Linked DNA regions of Homo sapiens: region 2 is linked to region 1. Evidence: promoter capture Hi-C in 16 types of primary human blood cells and fetal thymus (Javierre and others, 2016). All regions are on one chromosome and are shown on one strand. Each heading gives the region's core, a stretch centred on a gene start or on the middle of the fragment in contact. The rest is flanking DNA. Distances are from core to core; before and after follow the strand shown.

Evidence for each region. The method cuts DNA at HindIII sites, captures the fragments that hold promoters and counts their contacts. A CHiCAGO score of 5 or more calls a contact.
Region 2: a contact is called between a fragment that was not itself captured here and the fragment with the promoter of VTI1B in region 1, in 1 of 17 cell types (total CD8 T cells). The highest score is 5.2, in total CD8 T cells.

The regions. Positions count from the first base shown.
Region 1 is chr14:67,671,784-67,679,040 of GRCh38, forward strand. It overlaps VTI1B (vesicle transport through interaction with t-SNAREs 1B), which reads right to left and starts at 2,849. Exons shown (of 6, transcript NM_006370.3): 1 at 2,592-2,849. The coding sequence starts at 2,706. It overlaps RDH11 (retinol dehydrogenase 11), which reads right to left. Exons shown (of 7, transcript NM_016026.4): 7 at 5,017-6,640. The coding sequence ends at 6,538. It also overlaps a transcript of GPHN not described here. RefSeq lists silencers at 2,524-2,633, 2,734-3,173. The HindIII fragment of the contact is 4,739 bases long and covers 1-3,423 here.
Region 2 is chr14:67,482,475-67,489,731 of GRCh38, forward strand. TMEM229B (transmembrane protein 229B) reads right to left here and starts at 6,247. Exons shown (of 3, transcript NM_001348543.2): 1 at 6,034-6,247; 2 at 4,526-4,698. It also overlaps a transcript of GPHN not described here. RefSeq lists enhancers at 5,589-5,658, 5,822-6,321, 5,959-6,378. The HindIII fragment of the contact is 2,469 bases long and covers 3,073-5,541 here.

The sequences.
Region 1 (7,257 bases), core at 1,599-4,098:
CCATGGCAGAAGATGGAAGGGCAACAGATCAAGAGAGCAGGCAAGCAAGAGAGGGCTGAACTAACCCACTCTCTCAACAACCAAGCCACTCTCAGGATAACAATCTAATCTCTGAGGATGGAGCCCTCATGGTCTAATCATTTCTTATGGGTCCCACCTCTTAATGCGATTAAAATAGCAAATAAATGTCAACATAAGTTTTAGAGGGGGACATTCAAACCATAGTAATAATGAATTCAATTTTCTATTTTTCAAAGCAATGTTCTTTTGCATTATTTAGACTTATAGAAATGGGCATTGCAAAAATTAATTCAGTGCCAGGTTGAAAATGCAGTCTACATTTTTTTTTTTTTTTGGGAGAGTCTTGCTCTGTGGTCCAGGCTAGAGTGCAGTGGTGCGATCTTGGCTCACTGCAACCTCCAGCTCCAGGGCCCAAGTGATCCTCCCACCTCAGCCTCCCCAGGAGCTGGGACTACAGGCATGCACCACCATGCCTGGCTAATTTTTTTATTTTTTGTAGAGATGAGGTTTCACCATGTTGCCCAGGCTGGTCTCAAAATCGTTCAACACAGCAATACTCCTGCCTCAGCTTCCCCAAGTGCTGGGATTACAGGTGTGAGCCACCATGCCTGGCCTGCAGTCTACTTTTTTTTCTTTTCTTTTCTTTTTTTTTTTTTTTTGATACAGAGTCTTGATCTGTTGCCCAGGCTGGAGTTCAGTGGCATGATCTCGGCTCACTGCAACCTCCGCCTCCTGGGTTCAAGCAATTCTGCCTCAGCCTCCTGAGTAGCTGGGACTACAGGCAACTGACACCATGCCCGGCTAATTTTTGTATTTTTAGTAGAGATGGGGTTTCACCATATTGGCCAGGCTGGTCTTGAACTCCTGACCTCAAGTGATCCGCCCGCCTCGGCTTCCCCAAGTGCTGGAATTACAGGTGTGAGCCACCGTACCCTGCCTGCAGTCTACTTTTCAATCACATAAATCAGATCCCACAATGCTTCTGCACAGTATCTTTTAACTGCATCCCATCATATTTAGAAAAAGGCACAAGTCTTTCACCATGGTCCACAAGGCCCTACATGATCTGGCCCTGCTTATCGCTCTCCTTTGCTCACTCCATCCCAAACACATGGAACTTCCTGCTCTTCGCTGAACACACCAAGCTCATTTCTGCTTAAAGGCATTTGCAGTGCTATTCCCTCCTTCTGACACTCACTTCTCCCTGATTTCTGGTTTACTCCCTCACTTCATTTAAGTCTCTGTTCAAACGCCATCTCCTCAGAGAGGACTTTCACAACCGCCCTATTTAAAACTGAAGTCCCAAAGAAGGCGGATCACTTGAGGTCAGGAGTTAGAGATCAGCCTGGCCAACATGGCAAAACCCTGTCTCTACTAAAAATACAAAAATAATTAGCTAGGGGTGGTGGCGCAACTGTAATCCCTATTACTCCAGAGGCTGAGGCAGGAGAATTGCTTCAATCTGGGAAGTGGAGGTTGCAGTGAGCCGAGATCGTGCCACTGCACTCCAGCCTGGGTGACAGAGTGAGACCCTGTCTCAAAAAAAAAAATGATAAATAATAAAATAAAACTGAAGTCCCATCCCCTATTCTTTTACTCTGATTTACTTTCCTGTATTCTTTAACACTGCCTCTTAATAGTTATATATTGTTTATCACCTACCCACTAGAATGGGGATGTTCGTATCTTTTTCACTGTAATTTGCAATATTCACCAGCACCTAGAACGGTGCCTCACAATTCACCAGCACCTAGCACACAGCAGCCTCACAATAAATATATATTAAATACATGAATTTCATTCTCACCAGTCATTCAATTCCTATGACCTTGAGTAATTCGTTGAGCAAACACCCAAGCTCTGACTCTTAAATAAAAGCAATAAAACAAAGTTTTGTCCTTGCCATCAAATTCTATATATCCGGAGGCCAAGAACTATAGCAGCTTTTCCTATGGATTTAGGGCCGGAAAACTCTAGCTCCTCCAGACAGAACTTGTAGCAACCTGAATCATGAAATTAAGGGGTAGTAAACAGTCTCAGCTGTAAAAACGTTCAAAACAAGACCACATCTAAATGCCACAATCAGGTTTTAAAGGCCAGCTCTCTACCCTCCAATAACTGGTATTTACCAACACCCCCAAATTATGACTCCTTTGGGTTTTTAACCCTTTTTCTGTGCTACGGATCCTCTGTCAGTCTGGTGAAAACTAGACCTGTCTTGAGACTAGTGCTTTTAAATGCATAAAACAAACAAAAACAGCTATGAAAGAAACCCACTCTACATTACAGGACCGCAGATGCAAAAGCCCCTCTGCTCTATTTGCCACAGTGAAAAAAGATGAGAAAATGTGGAAGGCCATAGAAGGATCCCAGGGAACTGAATCCCGAGGTCCAATTTACTCTCAGTGGCAGCAGGGAGACCTGGGGCTGGGACAAGCCAGCCCTAGGGGGCGTGTCTGAGGACGCGGAGGGAGGAGACGCGGGCCCGGGTCTGGGAGGAAGGTGGGAGAATCTTCCTTCCAAAGCGCGCAGGGCTGCGCTCCCCACGGCGTGGCCCACCCCCGCCTCACCGGTCCCCGCCGTCCCCAGCAGCCGCTCGGGCACCCCTTGTAGGTCTTCATGGAGGCCGCGGAAGATCTCGTGCAGCTTCTCGAAATGCTCCGAGGAGGCGGCGGAGGAGGCCATGGCGCAGGCCGCGCTGGAGCAGCGGCCACCGAGATTCGGGGCCCTGGGCCCTTTCCTAGCCCGGCGGTCAGCCGCCCAGCCCAGTGGCCATAACGGCGACCGCCGCACCACCGCCGCCCAGGACGAGGCTCTTCCGGAGCCGCGGCAGGGTCCTCTCGAGCCGGAACGCCCACCTTCTCCAGCCAGTGATTGCTGGAGCGCCGGCGCGAAAGCCTGACGAGAAGTCGGGAGACTGCGCGGCCTAGGCGACTCCTGAGGGAGCGGTGCCGCGCCGGGGCGATCGGCAGTCGCGGAACCCGAGAAGTGCCGGGTCCGGGTTGGGGAAAGGCCGCAGCGAAAGGGGCCTAGGGGACCTGCGGGACTGGCAGCGCGGCCGCCTTCCTCCCGGGCCCCGCCGGCCGGCGAGGGGCGGGCGCTGCAGTGCACGCCGGGGGATGTAGTTTGGCTCGGACGAGAGCGTCTCGTCCCGGGGTCGCGCGTTGCTCCGGGTGCCAGGTTCAGCCCGCGCGGCGACAGCGGGCTTCGGCCCGATTTGATGTATGTTTGCGTCTAGACGTCGTCCTCACTGTCATCGCGCTTTGCTTTGCCACCCTGACCCGAATTCCTCGTTTCGCGTCTTGACTGTTAGCTTTCGGCCCTGGAAAGATAGCCGGGCCAGGGGCTCTGCCTGCCGTCGGGAGGTGGAGCACTTTTCTTGGAAGGCCCAGCGGCTCCCCAAGCTTTCAGAAGTGGAACCCGGCCGGGCGAGTGGCTCGCGCCTGTAATCCCAGTACTTTGGGAGGCCGAGGTGGGAGGATTGCTTGAACCCAGTAGTTCGAGACCAGCCTGGGCACAATAGCGAGAGCTCTACCAGAAACCCAAAATAAGAACCGGGCATGGTGGCGCGCACTTTTGGCCCCAGCTACCCCCGGAGGCTGAGGTCCCACCACTGCACTCCAGCTTTGGGAGACCTTGCTCCCAAGTGGAGCGAGATCTTGTCTCCAAAAAAACAAAAAACCCAAAAACCAAAAATTCAAAAGTGGAACCCAGTTAGGATGACCTCGAAATACTCTAGCTGCTAGGCCCGAGTAATTCTCCTCGTGGAGACTAATTCTCCTCCTAGGCTGCCTCGTGCACTTGTTGACAACAGGTGTTTGTCAAGCGTAGGCATTGCGAGGGATCTGGGCATGTTGGTGAATAAAACATTTAATCTCTGCTCCAGGGGAATTTATAATCTGGTGTGGAAGGTGGGCCTGGCTTCATTAGGTCTCATCTGCCACTAAGTGTCACGTGTTAAAAATTACAAGGTCCCTTCTTGCACTCCATGGGTATAAATTCCTGTCTTCACGTCGGGCATGGTGGCTCACGCGTCATCCCAGCACTTTGGGAGGCCGAGGCGGGCGGATCACTTCAGGTCAAGAGTTCAAGACCAGCCTGGCCAACATGGTGAAACCCCCGTCTCTGCTAAAAACACAAAAATTAGCCAAGCGTGGTGGTGGGCGCCTGTAACCCCAGCTACTCGGGAGGCTGAGGCAGGAGAATCGCCTGAACCCGGGAGGCAGTGGTTGCAGTGAGCTGAGATCGTGCCACCACACTCCAGCCTGGGTGACAGAGAAGACCCTATCTCAAAAAATTAAAATAAATTATTATTTTCACCGATTTCACGGTTTGCTCAAGGTGTCTGTTCTCAAATGTTTGCTTGGGAGTTCAATTTTAAACTGCCTACAAATATTAAAAGATGTATGACTGCTCAGGAGAAAATGCTTTGCTAATTTGTATCTCCTGGGCCCTCATTTTTATTAGATCAAGTTCATTGGCTGTTGATTCAACACACTTTGGTTAAGCTCTTAATATGCACTGAGCATAGACATGACCAAGTCTGAGGATAGTCAGTATACTGTGTAAGTCCCACAGCACAATGCTGGGACTTGTCACAGTACAGAAATAAGGGGCAGGTGCAAAAAAAGGATCAATAGCCTGGGGCCGGGTGCTGCGGCTCACACCTGTACCCCAGCACTTTGGGAGGCCAAGGTGGGAGGATCGCTTGAGCCCAGAGTTTGAGGCCAGCCTGGGCAACAAAGCAAGACGCTGTCTCTAATTAAAAAGAAAGGAAAAAAAAATGGCCCGGGATGATCAAGAAATGTGGAAAAAGTGTCTGTGAAGAGTGTCAAAAAAGGTTAAGTAGGAAATGGTGAATGAACAATTAGATTATCACACAACCTAAATTAATAGCATGTGGATTGAGATTACACTGTAGCTAGACTCTGGAACAAATTATTCTTTAGAATGAGAAATCATTGCACAACCATAATAATGAACAGTGTTTTCTTCTTTTGACTGTAATCAAACTTTTAATTCTTAGTTTTTATTCTGGTAAATGAAAACAAAAAATAATCAAAAAGAATTTTTATTTGTCATTGACAGTTCAATATAAATTAAGTAAAACATTAATTCATTTATTCTGCACTATTATCAGAATTTTTCTAATTTTTCCGTAAAATGACCATTTCTAAACATATAGCTTAATGGTCAAAACAAGTGCAATAAAAGATTAATTTACAAGTATCAGAAGTGAAGACTGTGGTCCTATAACTCTTTCCCCCACCAAAGTTAAAATATAATTGTCATTCCAGGAAATCAAAATCTTTTAGAATAGCACACTCCAAACAAGTGATGGGAACACTACTAATTCCTTAGACTTCCTTTGGCAGCATTACTTTTGATAAGAAGTCTCCAAATAAAATACAAAATTTTGGCACAGACATTTTAATCTTGTCAAGACAATGTAAGGAAATGCCCCAAAATATTATTAAATTGACCATAATTACCAATATCAGTCCCTAAGATAATTTTTCTGAATGAAGAATTGTTTTTTTTGTTTGTTTGTTTTTAGGATTTTTTTTTTTTTTTTTTTTTTTTTTTTTGCCACACTGGTTTTTGTTAAGACCTCATCAGTCCTGGGTGCTTGCCCTCAATTCCTCCATAGCTATGTTAGCATATTTAATATCTTTTGCTATTAATCCTTAACTAGTTAATCCTTAAAGGGCTAGTTAATCCTTAACTAGTCCCTTCATTTTGTGCATTATCTTCCAGTATTCTCCTTCTCTTTTTTTACTTCTTCCCTGCTACCCATGTGCTCTTGGTGGGTAGTTACCAACATATACAGAATCTGCTTCCCTTTGCAGCATTTCATTTGCATAAAGACTGGATGGCACTGGTTTGCTCCATCTCTGATTATTGTGGCTGTTTTGAACTTTGTGAAAATACTCCCTTGGCACACATAAACAGGAAGACACACAAAGATATACACAATTTTTAGTAGAGGTGGGGTTTCACCATGTTGGCCAGGCTGGTCTTGAACTACTGACCTCCGGTGATCCACCATGCCTGGGCAAGCCCTGCTCCTGAGCCAGTCTTTGTTATTCATGTTAAGCTGAGGTTGCAGTGTGGCCCTCTTGAAGTGAAGACTGGTTGGTTGGGAGGAACTGAATTGTGAACAAAGAAGCTAGTTCAAATTTGCATAAATCATCCCTGCTATAGCTTAGATTCTCCTAGGTAGTAGTTTCTTTCAGAAGGAAAATGAGCTGTGCAGGTCATATGAGGGTCTTCTTATCCTATTATGATATCTCTAGTAACTCTGGCAGTAACAGAAGCAAAGTAAATCTGGACATGACAGACATTTAGACGAATCTGGCAGTACACTGAGTTTTAACTGGACACCAAGCAGGCAAGGCTGGAAGGTTTTGCTCTCTTTGTGCTAAAGGTTTTGAAAACCTTGAAGGAGAATCATTTTGACAAGAAGTACTGTGTAGTCTGCTGCAGTCTTCTCTTGGGTCCAACTGGCACTGCCTGTTAGTCTATTGGGAGGCCCAGCAGGTCACAACTGACGTCCCACAGCCGCCTTGCTATAGTCTCATTACGAGCTTGGGCAGAGACCCATGCCACATGACAGTCACTGGAAGGTAAAGAGAAAGGTATGAAGCACAGTGTTAAGAATGAAGTCTGCCATCTGCCAGGGATAAGGAATATGACATAAAAACAACTAGGGATCACATGTTCTCCATGTACTTCACAGGGCCAGTGTTTGTCCTTATCTCTTCATTCTCCAGTCCTTAGCCAGAGAAAATGTAATTACCATTTTAGATCTCCTCGCTAGACCACCTCTCATCAGAATGCTTTGTTTGATATATAATGCATACATTTGGTCTTTATATTCCCCTATTTATATAATTTAATATTAGTGCCTGCCTGACACCCATGTATATCCATCTTCTTCAAGTAAGTCCATAAGGCCCATTCTACAGAGCCTTGGACAATGTCATATAGCTGAGATCCTGCTATTCACATTGGTCAGAGATGCCTGGAGTAGTAAAAAAAAAAAAGAAATGCTTATTTCTGGACTCCTTGAAGTTATACTGTTAGTAAACTCATATGAGAAGTAAAGCCAGCTTCGAAAACAACAAAAGGAAAAGGCGACACAGAAAAGAAATGGTAAAACCAAGGTACGAGGTGTCTTGGTCCATTTTGTGGTACTGTAACAGAATACGACAAACTGGGTAACTATAATGAGCA
Region 2 (7,257 bases), core at 3,057-5,556, 190 kb before region 1:
AGGCCTTCCGCTTTCACTCCACTCACTTCCCAAGCTTCACTCCCCATCCCCAGCCACCCCCATCACTACAGTTCCATGTTCTGGGGAGACCCACAGCCCTTCTAGGAGACCCCTGAGGCAACGCAGCGGGGGACAGCTTCAGGAGCCCTTGGGCGGCTCTGTGCTGAAGATAAGTGGCTTCAATGAGGAAAGGGCAGAAACCTCCCTGAACTTCCCCTGTTGTCATCAAGTTAGCAGGGAGGAAAATAGGGCTTGCCCAGGGCCAGAAGGGAAGCAAGTGGAGGGAAACTCCTGTAGCCACTGGCTGGTGCACATGCTGCAGACTTCCACCCTCTTGCTGTGGGTGCCCCCCAAGGAAAGCCCCTGGGATTAGTGATACTGCAGGCCTTGATGAAGTCCTCCCTCCACCTCCCAAGTCACAGTAATAATAATAACCAGGTGCTCTTCTCAGTATTTCCATGTATTAACTCAAAAAATTCTCAAGCCCATTTTACAGATGGGGAAAGTGAGGCAGAAAGAGGCTACGTTCTTTTTTTGTTTGTTTTTTGTTTTTTTAGATGGAGTCTCACTTTGTCACCCAGGCTGTAGTGCAGTGGTGTGAACTTGGCTCACTGCAACCTCTGTCGCCCGGGTTCAAGCAATTCTCATGCCTCAGCCTCCCAAGAGGCTGGGATTATAGGTTCCTGCCACCACACCCAGCTAATTTTTGTATTTTTAGTAAAGACGAGGTTTCACCATGTTGGCCAGGCTGGTCTTGAACTCCTGACCTCAAGTGATCTGCCTGCCTCGGCCTCCCAAAGTGCTGGGATTATAGGCACGAGTCACCACACCTGGCCGAGCCTACATTCTAATAACTATAAAAGGCAAGGCTGGGATTCAAACCCCACAAATCTGGTTCCAGAGTCTTTGCTCCTAATCAGCACACTGCACTGCCCCCGAGGCTGACTGCAGGCTCCTCTGAGGGCACTACCATTTTCTGAGTTCCTGCTTCTGGAAGGCTGGGATGGTATGTGGAGAGACAACAGGAAGCAAGGAGAAGGTTGTGAACTTCTAGGTGGTTCATTAACAAACTTCCCAACTGGGTGTCAGAGTTCCTAAAGGCTCCCAGCCTGTTCCTCGGGATCCACACAGAGGCCCTCCAGGGTCAAAGCTGACAGTCACAGGACCATGACAGCAACCAACCCTCAGGCCCCAAGGCATGCGCCATTCAAAGGCCCCTCACCAGGACACACACAACCCAGAGGCCCCCTGACTGCCAGCCCACACCAGTGCTCCTGGGAGTCTCAGATGGCCCGGCCCAGCCCTGCCATGGAGACACCAGCCAAGAGCAGGGGCCAGCTGCCCAGAGGAGCAACAGCCAGCATGTCAGGAGGAGCGGTCCGAACACAGAGGATTTCAGGGGGCCTCAGATCCCAAGCAAACCGCAGCAGGAGGCAGGGCAGGGTGAGTGGGCTTGGGGGATGGAGTCAGTTCTGGCACAGAGGTCCCTGGGGCTCAGAAAGCGAAGGATGCCCTGCACGGGGGACTGGCAGGCTGGCATCCCAGACCTGTATGTGGCTGCCTTGCTGTTACCATTCAGATCTCAGCTGAGCTGTCATATCTCAGGGACTTTTGATCCCCAGTCCAAAATAGCCTCTCTGTCACTCACATCATTCCATTTTATTTTCTACATAGCACTTTCACTTTCTGATATGTTGCTACTTATTTATGGTCTGTCTCTCCTCAACTAGAATGAAAACTTCATGAGAGCAGGGGCACTGTCTTGTTCACTGCTGTTTAGTCAGTGCCTAGAGTGGTGCCTGGCAATAATACCTAGTAATACTTGTGGAATGAATGGATGGATGAGTGGGCCCAAACAGGCCCAGGCCCTTAAACACTGATGAGGGCAGGTATAAACAGCTAGCTGCCTCGGTCTCTCTTCCCTCCTTTCTTGAGAAATATAGCCTTCTAAAACATTTAATTCTAGCATTTAATTTTTTTTCTAATTATAAAAGCAACATGTGCTCACAGCTGAAATTTAAACATTACAGAATGACATAGAAAGCAAAAGTTCCCTGTAATCACACATCTTAGAGAAAGTCACTATTAATGGTATGTTGTGTAGTCATCCGGATTCAATTTTATTTTTTAAAAAGCCAATCCATGCATCATAGAAGAAGCATTCATAGGCCGGGCATGGGGGCTCACACCTGTAATCCCAGCATTTTGGGAGGCTGAGGCGGGAGGACTGCTTGAGCCCAGGAGTTTGAGACCAGCCTGGGCAACATAGTGAGACCTCATTTCTAATAAAGAAAAAAAAAGAAAAAGCACTCATAATTCTGAACTAACAGCGATTACCATTTCTCCTTTGCAATATTTTCCTATGTGTGTATTTTACAAGTCACCATAATATACTTATTCTGCAACCTGCCATTTTTACTTGTCATAACTGTTTTTCCAAGTTGTTATATAGCCTCTGTGCTCATTATTATAATGGCTGTGTAATATTCCAGCAAGCGGAAAACTGTAATTTACTTAACCTAGATGTCCAAAGGGAACAGTTGTTTCCCATTTCTACTACTACAGATGATATAACGAGAATTACCTTTAATGCCTGTAATGGAAGAATTCAGCCCTTTTCTTCTCTGGTACTATTTCCTAATAATATATCTTAATGGATAATTCCAGAAGGAGAATCACTGAACCAAACGGTACAACAGCCTTAAGGCTGATGGCATAAATTGCTCTGGGGAGATGTGCCTCCCATCTGAGGAACGACGTTCCCACAGAGGCACCCATGGCCATCTCTTTACCCCCAACTCCCCTCCTACAGTCTAGGCTTGCTCACACCACCCTGGCTACAAATCAACTCAAGAACACACTTCCTGAGAAACTCTCCAGTCAAACTGACTTTGTAAGCCCAGGCTGAGTGGAAAACAGATTCTGGCCCTGAATTATAAACTGTCAACTAGGAGAGTCAAGATCTACCTAAAGTGGAAAAAGACCTGATTACCCCTTTTCTACTCCCTGCAAATTCCTGCATGGAATCTGAAGCTCTGGGTTCCCATGGACCAGCCTAGGAACTCCAAAAAAAGCTTGTCTGTTCAAGATTGCAAAAGCCCAGCTCTGCCTGCCATGCCTTCTGGGGAGCTTCCTTCCTGCAGGCCTCTGATCCCACCAGGCTACGGGCCCTGCACAGACATAACAGCCTTCAGGCCAGACAGGCCTCTGGGGGTTGGGAAAGCAGCCAATTGTCATTTTTTAAGGCATCATCAAGGAAAAGCCAGGGGCTGAGGCTGGAAAGAAAGGCCTGTGAGGACAGGCAGGGCTGTGCAGTTAGGAGCCTCTCACCCTACCTCGAGCTTGTCTCGCTGAGGAGGAGATGCTGCTGCTGATATGTGACAAAAGCAAGAGGACATGCTCCTCCAGATCCCCTGGTGGTCACTCTTATGGCAGCTAAGGCTCACAAATCCCCCCACCTCCCAGGGCCCTGGATGCCCTACTCCAGGCCTCCTAGACCAGCAGCACATGCATTGCTCATGGCTTCTGGGCAGAGTCCAGTCCCAGGTGATGCATGGTCCTCACTGCACAGATCTGAAGCCTGACGGCCAAAGTAGATGCTGTTTCCCAGGTGTGAGTGCTCGCTTCACTCACGCCAGACAATCTGAATGATATGGTTTGGCTGTGTCCTCACCCAAATCTCATCTTGAATTTCCACCATGTTGTGGGAGGAACTGGGTGGGAGGTAATTGAATCATGGGGCCAGGTCTTTCTCATGCTGTTCTTGTGATAGTGAATAAATCTCATGAGATCTGATGGGTTTTTGTTTTGTTTTGTTTTGAGACAGAGTCTTGCTCTGTTGCCAGGCTGGGGTGCAATGGCACGATCTTGGCTCACTGCAACCTCTGCCTCCCAGGTTCAAGCGATTCTCCTGCCTCAGCCTCCTGAATAGCTGGGACCACAGGTGCATGCCACAATGCCCAGCTAATTTTTGTATTTTTAGTACAGATGGGGTTTCACCATGTTGGCCAGGATGGTCTCAATCTGTTGACCTTGCGATCCACCCACCTCGGCCTCCCAAAGTGCTGGGATTACAGGCGTGAGCCACAGTGCCCGGCTGATCTGATGGTTTTATAAGGGAGAGTTTCCCTGCACAAGCTCTCTTTCTGCTTGCTACCAACCTTGTAATATGTGACTTGCTTCCCCTTGCCTTCCACCATGATTGTGAGGCTTCCCCAGACACGTGGAATTAACCCTCTTTTTCTGTATACATTTTCCACTCTTACGTATGTCTTTATCAGCAGCACGAAAACAAACTAATACACTGGGTCTGGCCTGGATTTTAGAGGCCATGTGGCCATAAGACGGCTCCCGCATGTGATGGCCCAATATTGCTTGACATTCCCCTCCCATTGCCCTGTGACAGGACCTTGGATGGGGAACAGACTCAGAACTAGAACCTCCAGACTCGTGCCCATGCTGATGAGGTGCCGAGCAGGCAGGATCGCTGGGCTGGTGATCCCCTGGGTGCTTGTAACATACTCACTTATCACACCCTTGAGTGTGCAGCTCACAACAGACATCAGGATCACTGTCCAGGAGTGTCCTGGGTTAACCTTTGTTGGCTGGGCCTCAGTGCCATTCTCAGCAACGTAGGCAAGCATCAGCCCTAGGGCTCAGCTGATCCTTGGCTGGGGGGCTGGCAGCTTCCATGTGTCCCTGGGAATAAAAGAGGAGGCTTTTATTAGCTTAAACTGCCCCCAGCAGATCCAAGAAAAACATTGCAAGGGCCTGGGCTCTGGGCTCAGCACCAGACACTCATCCCACCCTGGCCACCAGGGCCCCTTCCCGGAACCTACCCCCTCCTCTTTGCATCCAGTTTGCTCAGGTCTGATTAATCCAGCCACAAAAGTCTGGGATGGTCCTGGACAATCCACATGTCCAGGGTTAGGACTTAGGGCTTCTTGCCTAAATGTGTGAACACTTGTGAATCTGAGAGGGGATATAATTTTAGAATCCAGCTCCATTCTCATTCAGCTTCAAATTACATTCTCACCTTCACCCTGTAGTGGGTACATCTGTTCTCAAGGGCGGTCAGAACCTCATGGAAGGCAGACAATGTAGGACATTCGTTTCAGCACTTTGAAAGCAGAGAACAACCACTCGTGCAGAAAAACAAAATGTGTGCTAAACCTTTCTACGTACTATTCTACCTCTCTAATATTTATTCATCTCATTTTATTATTTCACCATTATTATGGTTGAGGCCCTTCCTATGAACATCAGTAACCAGCTACAAGCTAATACAAATCTTACTTTATAATGCCCTTTGCCATGTACTTTAAAAAAAAAAATCAAGTAGAGACGGGTCTTGCTATGTTGACCAGGCTGGTCTCAAGCTCTTGGCCAACCCTCCCACCTCAGCCTCCCAAAGTGCTAGGATTATAGGCGTGAGCCACTGTGCCTGGCCAGCCATGTACAGCCATGTTTTTACTACTATCCCTAAGACTTGACTATTTAATGGAGATTCCAACATTTTTTGTTTTAATATGAAAGTGCTAAAGCTTCCCTGAAAACCCCCTGGATACAACACCATCTGCATATGCCCAAGGACAGCACTCAGGCCCAGCATGGCCCTCTGGGACAGCCCAGCCACTCAGAAGCTGAGAACAGTATGTGGCTGGGGGTGGGAGCTGGCACTCCCCTGTGGATGACCAGGCAGGATGGACCAGAGGTGCTGGTCTGTGCTGATGCCCATGTCCACCTTCCCCACTCCCCTCTGACCACCAGGGTCTCTGAGTAGAGGCCGCTTGGGCCCTTGCTCAAGCTGACAACCTGTGAGGCAGCCAGGCAGCCGAGGAGAAGTGAAAGGGCAGGAGTGGGGGAACTGAAACTCACTGTATGGTGTGGTTTTGGGGGGTGCCCCCCTGGGTCTCCCCCCGGGGCCTCTGCACTGAGAGCATCACAGTGGGCTGCTGTGCTCAGCCTTGCCTCCCCCTCCCCAGCTCCTTCACAAACGGGACCCTCCAACCCTCCCTGATCTGTCCATCTTACCGGCTTCTTCCAGCCTGCCGGATGGCGGACAGGGGTCACCTTGACACGTACCTATCACCTTGAGGAAAAGGTTTTAACGGAGCATGTCCGAACCCTCTGGGACTCTCTCTCCACCAGCACCACAAGGACCATGTGCCTGGGGAGTTCAATCCCACCTGTGGAGACTTCTCCCCACCCTAGGCCCTCAGCCACATCCACGGCACAAGTCAGAACTAAAACAGAAACAGAAACCAAAGACCACATCCTGCCGGCACAGCCTGCGGGTTACTGCAGCCAGCTCTGGGAGCCCACTGCCTGCTGAGGTGCAGCCCTGGCAGATGAAGCCCCAGCACTCAGAAAGGCTCCTTTTGAGGGCAGTGTCCCACCAGACACCTCCCACTTCCTGGTCTGCAGGCTTTTTCCCCAGGAAAAACTTAGTTGCAGGGAGGATGAGATGATGGTGCACCTCTCCCTCCAAGTGCATAAGCTGTCCCTAGGCCTCACTGACACTCCCTATCCCCCAAGAGTAGATCCCAGGGGACAGGGGACATGAGGCTCCTTTGAGGACTGCAGGACCTGAACCAGAGTTTCTTGGAACATATGAATGAATGATGAGCCCTTATAGCAACTAACATATGGATGGAACTTAGATCATCTCTCATGATTTTCTCAGGCTCCTGAGGGGCAGGAAGGGCAGAAATGGTCACCTCTATTTTAGAAATGAAAACACAGAGGGTTCAGGACATTAAGAGATTTGGCCAAATCCAAACATTTGATTCAAATCCCAGTCCTCAGCCTCCAGAATCACCCTGTCCCCATACAATGTGCCTTCGAACTGCTTCCCACCCAAATCTCATCCTTAAGGCACATGTCTGCATGCAAGGGTCTTCAAGTCAGTGTAAACTACTTAGTCCATTCCAAGTAAGCTGCTTATTTTGCAAACTTATAGCTGAGTTTGTCCATGCAGCTTCTGGTCAATATGCCTGAGACGCTGCTGGGAGCGTGAAGAAGCAGAGACCACCGGCCTGTTTCAAGCACTGTCATCTCTCCTGCCCTCCTCTGCAGCCACCATTCTGACTCCTTCTTCCAGACCCTGCTCCCTCCTCACTCCTTTGCGATGCCGTCCCACAACCTCCAGGTCATTCCATCACTGATGTTCCCAGGGGGATCTGACCATCCTTCAACTGAAACATGTCATCCCATCTTAAAATTCTTTCTATGTAGCCGGGCGCGGTGGCTCACGCC